Linked DNA regions of Homo sapiens: region 1 is linked to region 2. Evidence: promoter capture Hi-C in human tissues and cell types (Jung and others, 2019). All regions are on one chromosome and are shown on one strand. The core of a region is centred on a gene start or on the middle of the fragment in contact, and the rest is flanking DNA. Distances in the headings are between cores, read along the strand shown.

Region 1 (4,175 bases), core at 880-3,379, 390 kb before region 2:
CCACGCGACAGAGTGAGATTCCATCTCAAAAAATAGAATCGAATGCATGGTCGGTCTCAAAGAGATATTTGCACACCCATTTTCATAGCAGCATTATTCACAATAACAAGAGGTAGAAATAACTCAAATGTCCATCAATAGGTGAATGGATAAACAAAATGTGATATACACACAAAATAAAATATTATTTAGCCTTAAAAAAGGAAGTAAATACTGTCACGTGCTCCAACATGGATAAACCTTGTGGACATTATGAAATAAGCCAGTCCAAAACACCAAGTATTTTATGATTCTACTTGTATGAGGTATCTAAAGTAGCCAAATGCATAGAAAAAGGAAGTAGAATGGTGGTTATCAAGGGATGAAGGGAGGAGAAAAAGGGGACGTATTGTTTAATGAGTAGAGTTTCAGATCTGCAAAATGAAAAAGTTCTAGAGATTGGTTTTACAAAAATGTGAATATACTGAACTCTACTGAACTATATGCTTAAAAATGATTAAGATGGTATATTTCATGTTTTTTTTTTTTACAATTAAAAAAAAAAAAAACAGTTACCATATGACCCAGCAATTCCATTCCTGGCTATATATACCGAGAAATGAAAACATATGTCCACACAAAAATGTGCACATGGAGGTTCATAGCACCATTATTAATAGCTGAAGAATGGAAACAACTCAAATGCCCATCAACTGATGAAGGAATAAACAAATGTAATATATCCATACACTGGAATATCATTTGGCCATAAAAAGAAACAGAAGTACTGATGATATATACTGCAACACGAGTGAACCTTAAAAACATTATGCTAAGTGAAAGAAACAGACACAAAAGGCCACATATTATGTGACTTGATGTATATGAAATCTCCAGAAGAGGAAAGTCCCTAGAGAAAGCAGGTTGATGGCTGCCTAAGGCTGAGGGGAAGGAGGGAAGGAGGGAATGGGGGAGTGACTGCTAACGGGAATGGGGTTTCTTTCTGGGATAATGAAAAGGCCCTGGGATTAGATGACGTTAATAGTTGCACAGCCTTTTAAATATAATAAAAACCACTGAATTTACTTTGGCTTTCTATTTTTATTTATTATTATTTTTAGAGAGATGTGGGAGGTCTCACTATGCTGCCCAGGCTGGTCTAGACTCAAGCAATCCTCTGACCTCGGCCTCCTAAGTGCCAGGCCTCCCAAGTGGTAGGATTACAAGTGTGGGCCACCACACTCAGCCAACTGCACATTTTAAATCAGTGGTCTCCAACCTTTTTGGCACCAAGGACCGGTTTTGTGTTAGACAATTTTTCCATAGACCAGGGGTGGGGGGATGGTTTCAGAATGATTCAAGTGCATTACATTTATTCTGCACTTTATTTCTATTATATCATAATATATAATGAAGTAATTACACAACTTATCAACTTATCATAATGTAGAATCAGTGGGAACCCTGAGCTTGTTTCCCTGCAACCAGACAGTCCTGTCTGGGTATGATGGGAGACAGTAACAGATCATCAGGCATTAGATTCTCATAAGGAGTACACAACCTAGATCCCAGCCTGGCCAACATGGCAAAACCCTGTCTCTACTAAAAATACAAAAGTTACCCAGGCGTGATGACAGGTGCCTGTAATCCCAGCTACTTGGGAGGCTAAGGCAGGAGAATCACCTGAATCCGGGAGAGATTGCAGTGAGCCAAGATCACACCACTACATTCTAGCCTGGGTGACAGAGCAAGACTCTGTCTCAAAAAAATAAACAAACAAAAAAAAAAACAAAAAAAACCCCACAAACAAAGTTTCACTTGTTCCCCTGCCGCTCACCTCCTGCTCTGCAGCCCGGTTCTGGTACCAGTCCCTGCCCAGGGCTGGGAACCCCTGCTTTAAATGGTGAATTTTATATGTGAATTATATCTTAATTTTTAAAAAGGCAGATGCACTGATTTGGAAAGCACTACTTGGTTCAATGACCTCAGGTTATCTTCCTCCTCAGCCCAAGAAAGGTAGTAAAACCCTTTTTCTCATTTTCCTATAAAGGACTTACCATACCACTTGGGGTCTAATAGCTATTCACAGATCCCCTCTGTTTCTGGGTGGGCCAATTCACCCCTCCAAAGCTCCTTTATCTGAAGGGGCTACTATACCAACCCAGACCTGGCCAGTCCAGACACTGACAAGCAAGTACATCCACAGCAGCCAAAGAACTAGGCTCAAGCCATCCTTACCTCAGGTTCTCTGGGAACCAGGCAGGTGCAAAGATCAACCTGTTGGCCTCACACAGTGGCTATCATTTCTTTTCCTAGGCAGTATCCACCAAACTAATTAAGGACTGGGTCCACAGCTACCTGGAATCAAGAAGAAACCCAGAGAGACTGTCCATCTTCCATCCTCCCACTGGGATAGAGACAGAAAGTTTGAAACTAATACGGGTAAACAGAAAGGGCAAATTCACAATGAGGGAGGCAAAGGCCCTTGTAATTGCTAACCACAAAAAAGGATTGTTATTTCTCTGTACTCTCCCTGCAGATGAGAATATCTAACCTCCCCTGTGGGGAACTTTTAGAAATCAATCTGATGTATTTATACTCTGTACATTGTTGGAGGACATTTAAAATGGTACACAACTTCTTTTAAGACAACTTTGCAATACACAAAATTTTAAATGTATATTCTTTGACCCAGCAATTCTATTTCCAGTAACTTATCCTAAAAATATACTTGTACAAGGTACAGAGATCTATATATAAGGCATTTCACTGTAGTAATATTCATAAAAGCAGAAGACTGAAAACAACCTAAATATCTATTAATAAAAGATTTGTTAAATAATACTCATTTACATGGAATACCATAATGCCATTAAAAAGAATATGCTGGCCAGGCACAGTGGTTCACACCTGTAATCCCAGCAATTTGGGAGGCCAAGGCAGGAGGATCACTTGAGCCCAGGAGCTCAAGACCAGCCTTGGGAGGTTGAGGCTGCAGTGAGCCGTGATCATGCCACTGCACTCCAGCCTGAGTGACAAGTGAGACGCTGTCTCAAAACAAACCAAAACAAACAAAAAAGCCTGATGTGCTGGTAATTTCCATTTATCAATCCAGGTGCTGGTTACATGGATGTGCTCAGCCTGTGAAAATTAATTAGTTGAGTTGTACATCTGACATATTCACATTCTTCTATGTATATTATACCTCAATAAAATATTAAAAAGAATGTAACAAACCTACTTGTATTGATATAGAATGTTCTTTAAAATATTAAGTGAAAAAAAATCATGGTGCAGAAGAGTATGTACTGCATGTTTCTATTTTTGTGTTAAACCACAGATAGATATAAATGCCTATATATAAATAGATGCTTTGGAAGAACACACAAGTAACTAAACATGCAATGGTTATTATGGGAAAGGAAAAGTGCAGAACTGGAAGTTCAGAGTGAGAGAAAGACTTATTTTTCACTTTATGTATCCTCTATTCCAATTTTCATCTGCTACCATGCATATTTATTCATTTTACAATGACAAAATCTAGTCTAGGCAGTCAAAAAGGGCTCCCTTTCCTCCCTGGGGGTAGGCTGCTACTTTGGAACAATTTGCTGCAATTTGTGCTGTGAATCAGCACCCAGATACTTGATAGGGGGAGGCAGTGTGGTTTATCAGAAAGGTAATTAATGGTGGTTTGCTATTCTAGAAAAGTGAAAAGGACATAATAAAAACCCTATTCTTTGATACATGAAGTGGATTTGATTCCCGAATCCACCCAGTTCTAGCTGTGTGATCGCAGTTACTTGGCCGTTCCTTGCCCCATCTGAGAAATGAGGATAACAGGGTTCTTATGATGACTAATAATAATAGAAATGCATGTAAAGCACATAGCATGATACTTGAAGTGTGGTTGGCACTCAAGGATTAACTTTGCTATTCTTCTACAAAAATAACTTGTTTGCAGACTGGGAAGTCAGGAGTTACAGAAAAACAGTGACTGATTCTGATTAAAAGGTAAAGATGGGCTATAAGACCAAGGAAAACATTGCCTTACCAGCAACATCAGGAATAGGTAAGGAGGCCTTAGTCTGGGAAGACAGCTCAAAACCTTGAAAAGGTACAAGGAGAGAGAGAACTGAAATGAAAAAGAATAAGCCTGGCAGAAACAGAACAGCAAAGAAAAAAGAATAGACTTTAGA
Region 2 (4,755 bases), core at 314-2,813:
GCAATTCTCCTGTCTCAACCTCCCGAGTAGCTGGGATTACAGGCATATGCCACCACGCCCAGCTAATTTTTGTATTTTTAGTAGAGACAGGATTTCATCATGTTGGCCAGGCTGGTCTCAAATTCCTGACCTCAGGAGATCCACCCGCCTAGGCCTACCAAAGTGCTGGGATTACAGGCGTGTGCCGCTGCGCCCAGCCTAGCTGGAGATTTTTAATAGAGGATCCTCTGTCCACAGCACTCCTTCCCCTCACCTTTTTCTTCTTTCCTTAAATAGCTAATTCCTACCTTCCAAGGGTGGCTCTATGAAGCCTTTGCTGACTCCTCCAACCTGGTTTAAGTGACTTCCTATGCCCTTTATGGTATCCTGTGTTACTACTACCATGATTATGATGCATTATAATTGCCTGCTAACTTACTGTCCAGGCCCGAGTTAGAAATGCATCCTTTTTCTTTTTTTTTTTTTGAGACGGAGTCTTGCTCTGTCGCCCAGGCTGGAGTGCAGTGGCGTGATCTCGGCTCACTGAAAGCTCTGCCTCCCGGGTTCACGCCATTCTCCTGCCTCAGCCTCCCGAGTAGCTGGGACTACAGGCGCCCGCCACCATGCCCGGCTAAATTCTTTTTTTTTTTTTTTTTTCAGTAGAGACGGGGTTTCACCGTGTTAGCCAGGATGGCCTCGATCTCCTGACCTCGTGATCCGCCCGCCTCGGCCTCCCAAAGTGCTGGGATTACAGGCGTGAGCCACCGCGCCCGGCAGAAATGCATCTCTTATTCACCACTGTACCTCTCTCTGGTAACCAGCATAATGCTAGGCATATAATAAGCACTAAATAAATATTTGTTGAATTAAGAGTCTTTAGCAAGAAAGCCAAGTGCCTTAAGCCTAGAGTATAGTTTCAGCCTGGAAAGGAGTAGCCAATAATGCCTAATGGACTCAAGTGGTCACAAGATGCCATCATTGAGAAGGGACGTTCAAAGATCACAGAACTGAACACATGGAAAAAGCTGAGATCCAGGAGGAGACCTGAGGTGTCCAAAGCCACAGAGAAAAGCAGCAGCAGCAGCAGTACAACAATTTTGGCTCAAATCTGACTTCTAAGCTGGTTTGCAGGCTGTAAGTTCAGTGCAGAAGGCCAATCTCTAGGGTATCCACCTCTGCCATGCGGGCAGATTAAGATCCGGTTTTCTGTAGAGCAGGCTTGGCGCTCAGGTAAGGGATATGGATGGGTTCGCAATTGACGAGTGAGTGGATACAGAGTCTGGTTTGGAGTTCCAGGTCTGAGATCCAGTTTGGGTCGCGGGTTCAGGTCTCCCTCCCTCCCCTCCCCTCCCCCTCGGCGCACTCACATGCCACCCTGTGAATGACCCAGAAGGTGATGCCCACCTCCGCCAGGCAGAGGCAGGCGGCCACCAGCAGCGTGTAGCGCGGCTCCCGCAGCAGCAGGCGCCGCTCTTGCCAGGCGCGCTGCAGCCATTGCTTGCAGAGTCCCTCTGCCTGGGCCGCGGAACCGGACCGGCCGCGTTTCCGCAGCCCAGCCGCCATCTTAACGGTGCGCCGCTTGTGTGGGCCCACCACCCCCGGAAACCCGAACCTTCGACACTTAGGTTCCGCTTCCCGTGCCTGGCGTCCCACCAGGCTAAGCGCCGATCCGAGTAGCCAGTCTTCATTTACTCCACTAAAATGTAATTTTTCTGCATTTGTCTCCTCTGATGCACTCCACGCTCCATAGGAGCAGGGACAATGTCTTACTCCTCAGTTTATACCCAGCCCTGGGTACACAGGCGCTAATTTAGAACGAATGTCCAGAAAAGCAACATTCCTGCCTACCTCCCCCACAACCGCTGAAGCCAGCATTCTCCTTCGCCTGCGCTGGGAACATCTGTGTTCATGCTGTCTCTCCAGGAGGGCAAAGCCCCTGTTCGCGCCCCTCCTGCCTGCCCTTCGAGCCTTCCGGATGCTGAGAAAAATGAACCTTTCACTAATTTTCAGATTTCCTGATAAAAGTCATTCATATTGAAAATATGAGAGGACGCAGTGATGAGCCCACGTGAGTCTGACACCTTGAGTGCGGCCCTAGGAAATGACTTGGCAGTACAGCCGGAGGATTCAGGGTCTGGACGATAGTTTTCCCAGCCGGAGGATTCTTCGAAGAGCGCTTAGTAAAGGACGGAAGTTCCACGTGTTTGTGTTGAGCAACTGCAGGTGGTGGGCGGAGACACCAGCGCCCCGCCTTCTGCATCCTGCCTTCCGTATTGGCTGAAGGGCCGGCGGCTCTGGCTGCCCGGCGGTTGAGAGCATGGCCTCTCCAGGGGCAGGTAGGGCGCCTCCGGAGTTACCGGAGCGGAACTGCGGGTACCGCGAAGTCGAGTACTGGGATCAGCGCTACCAAGGCGCAGCCGATTCTGCCCCCTACGATTGGTTCGGGGACTTCTCCTCCTTCCGTGCCCTCCTAGAGCCGGAGCTGCGGCCCGAGGACCGTATCCTTGTGCTAGGTGGGTAATCCCGGCGCGGCCCCGCCAGGTAGAGCTGGCAGGACCGGCGCCGCATGGGCTTGGCCTGGTCCGCTTTCCTCCCGCCTGTCTATCCCTCTTGGAGGACGCCTGCGTTGGGACGCGAGATCCAGCTCCTTCAGAGTCCCGGCTGTATTTAGTCAAGGCTAACAGGAGTAAGAGATTGTTGGTCCCGGGGCCCTCTGGAGAAAGACAGTCCCTCAGAGTTTGAGCGTTGGGGGTACCCAAGACCCTGTCCGGACCCTCGGGAGGCAGGCAGCCTTGGGGACCGGATTGCTCAGAGGACCGAGATCAAGTCCTAGCGCTAATTGACTTGTAAAACTTAGGACAAGTCATGAACCCGTTCTGAGCTTTAGATTCAGTTCTAGAAATGGTACTGCGAGTTCACATCGGAGGCGGCACGCGCAGGCACCTCGAGAATAATGCCCAGCGCTTTTCTTTTTGCCCCTGGGCACTGGGAGCCAGAGTCACCTAGAGAGAGTCCTGTCTGAAACTTGGTCCTATGCCTTAGAGAGTGAGAACAGCACCCTCTAGGGGTGGAGGGGAGATTGCCGCCCAGGGTGATACGATTCCCCAAAGGGAGACGTGCTGGAGGAAAGGTAGGGCTCTGGGGTGTTCGGCTGACCTCTTGAGGTTCTCTCCTAGTGTCAGCCTTGGAGGCGCTAGTAAAGTTTGAATGAGCAACAGATTTTCTTCCAATTGTCGTTTTTACTTTGCTCTTTGTAAAAGCCTTTGTATGTTTAAGTGAAGTCTTTAATAAATAAAAAAGGTATATGTAATATATATGTAAGGTATAAATAACAAATCTAATGTGTGTGTCTATTCCACTCAGTTTGAGAAATAGAACATTACTAGGGATAGAAAAAAAAGTATAATTTAGTGGTTAATAACTTGGCTGGGCGCGGTGGCTCACGCCATTAATCCCAGCACTTTGGGAGGCCAAGGCGGGCGGATCACCTGAGGTCGGGAGTTCGAGATCAGCCTGACCAACATGGAGAAACCCCATCTCTACTAAAAATACAAAAAATTAGTCGGGTGTGGTGGCGCATGCCTATAATCCCAACTACTTGGGAGGCTGAGGCAGGAAAATCGCTTGAACCAGGGAGGCGGAGGTTGTGGTGAGCCAAGATCATGCCATTGCACTCCAGCCTGTGCAAGAAGAGCAAAACTCTGTCTCAAAAAAAAAAAAAAAAAAAGAAAAGAACTTGGACTCTGGGCTGGCCTCATGATTCATGCTCATAATCCCAGCACTTTGGGAGGCCAAGGTGGAAGGATCACTTGATCGCAGGAGCTCAAGACCAGCCTGGGCAACATAGTGAGATCCCATCTCTACAAAAAATTTAGGCCAGAGCAGTGGCTTATGCTTGTAATCACAACACTTTGGGAGACCAAGGCGGGTGGATCATTTGAGGTCAGGAGTTCAAGACAAGCCTGGCCAACATGGTGAAACCCCGTCTCTACTAAAAATACAAAAATCAGCCAGGTGTGGTGGCACGTGCCTGTAATCCCAGGTACTTGGGAGGCTGAGGCAGGAGAATCACTTGAGCCCAGGAGGTGGAGGTTGCAGTGAGCTGAGATTGCACCACTCCACTCCAGCCTGGGTGACAGAGTAAGACCCTGTCTCAAAAAAAAAAAAAATTAAAACTTAGCTGGGCATGGTGGCCTGTGCCCATAGTCCGAGTTACTCAAGAGGCTGAGGCAGGAGGATCGTTTGAGCCAGGAGATCCAGGCTGCAGTGAGCTGTGATGGCTCCAATGGGCTCCAGCCTAGGCGACAGAATGAGACCCTGTCTCAAAACAAAGCAAAACAAAAAACAAACAAACAAAAAACCACCTTGGACTCCAGAGGCAGTGAATTATGTTGGAATCTTGGCTCGGCTTATACTGGCTGTGTAATCCTGGACAAAATACTTGAATTTCTGTGCTTCCATTTTCTCAACCTTAAAAACATAAGCATATTTATTAATTGGGCTTTAAGTTGATTAAATGAGCATGAAGGATACCTAGAACAATGCCTGGCAAAATGAAAAGTATATTCAAGGTTCTCTGTGTGGTCCTCCTAAAACCCCTTCTCCCCACAAGTAAACACTTTCTTGAATCTGTGATTTTAAACCATTGCACTTATTTATAGATTTACCTTAGATCTGTTTTCTCAAGCTTTAGTGTGTATCAAAATTACCTGGGGAACTAGACTGCACTGTGAGATTCTAATTCCAGGGATGGTCTAATGTGGGTCTCAGGAATCT

What was found. The method cuts DNA at HindIII sites, captures the fragments that hold promoters and counts their contacts. A contact is called where the count stands out against the background at its distance.
Region 1: a contact is called between a fragment that was not itself captured here and the fragment with the promoter of ALG3 in region 2, in 1 of the 25 tissues and cell types used here (hippocampus).

What each region holds. Positions count from the first base shown.
Region 1 is chr3:183,854,215-183,858,389 of GRCh38, forward strand. All of the region lies in intron 4 of PARL (presenilin associated rhomboid like), which reads right to left. Among named protein-coding and RNA genes, the nearest start is that of PARL, 29 kb to the right of the region's middle. The HindIII fragment of the contact is 5,750 bases long and covers 1-4,175 here.
Region 2 is chr3:184,247,399-184,252,153 of GRCh38, forward strand. ALG3 (ALG3 alpha-1,3- mannosyltransferase) reads right to left here and starts at 1,564. Exons shown (of 9, transcript NM_005787.6): 1 at 1,347-1,564. The coding sequence starts at 1,542. EEF1AKMT4-ECE2 (EEF1AKMT4-ECE2 readthrough) reads left to right here and starts at 2,274. Exons shown (of 19, transcript NM_014693.4): 1 at 2,274-2,492. The coding sequence starts at 2,297. It overlaps EEF1AKMT4 (EEF1A lysine methyltransferase 4), which reads left to right and starts at 2,274. Exons shown (of 3, transcript NM_032331.4): 1 at 2,274-2,492. The coding sequence starts at 2,297. RefSeq lists enhancers at 145-888, 889-1,632, 1,831-1,880, 1,961-2,020, 2,051-2,160. The HindIII fragment of the contact is 15,241 bases long and covers 1-4,755 here.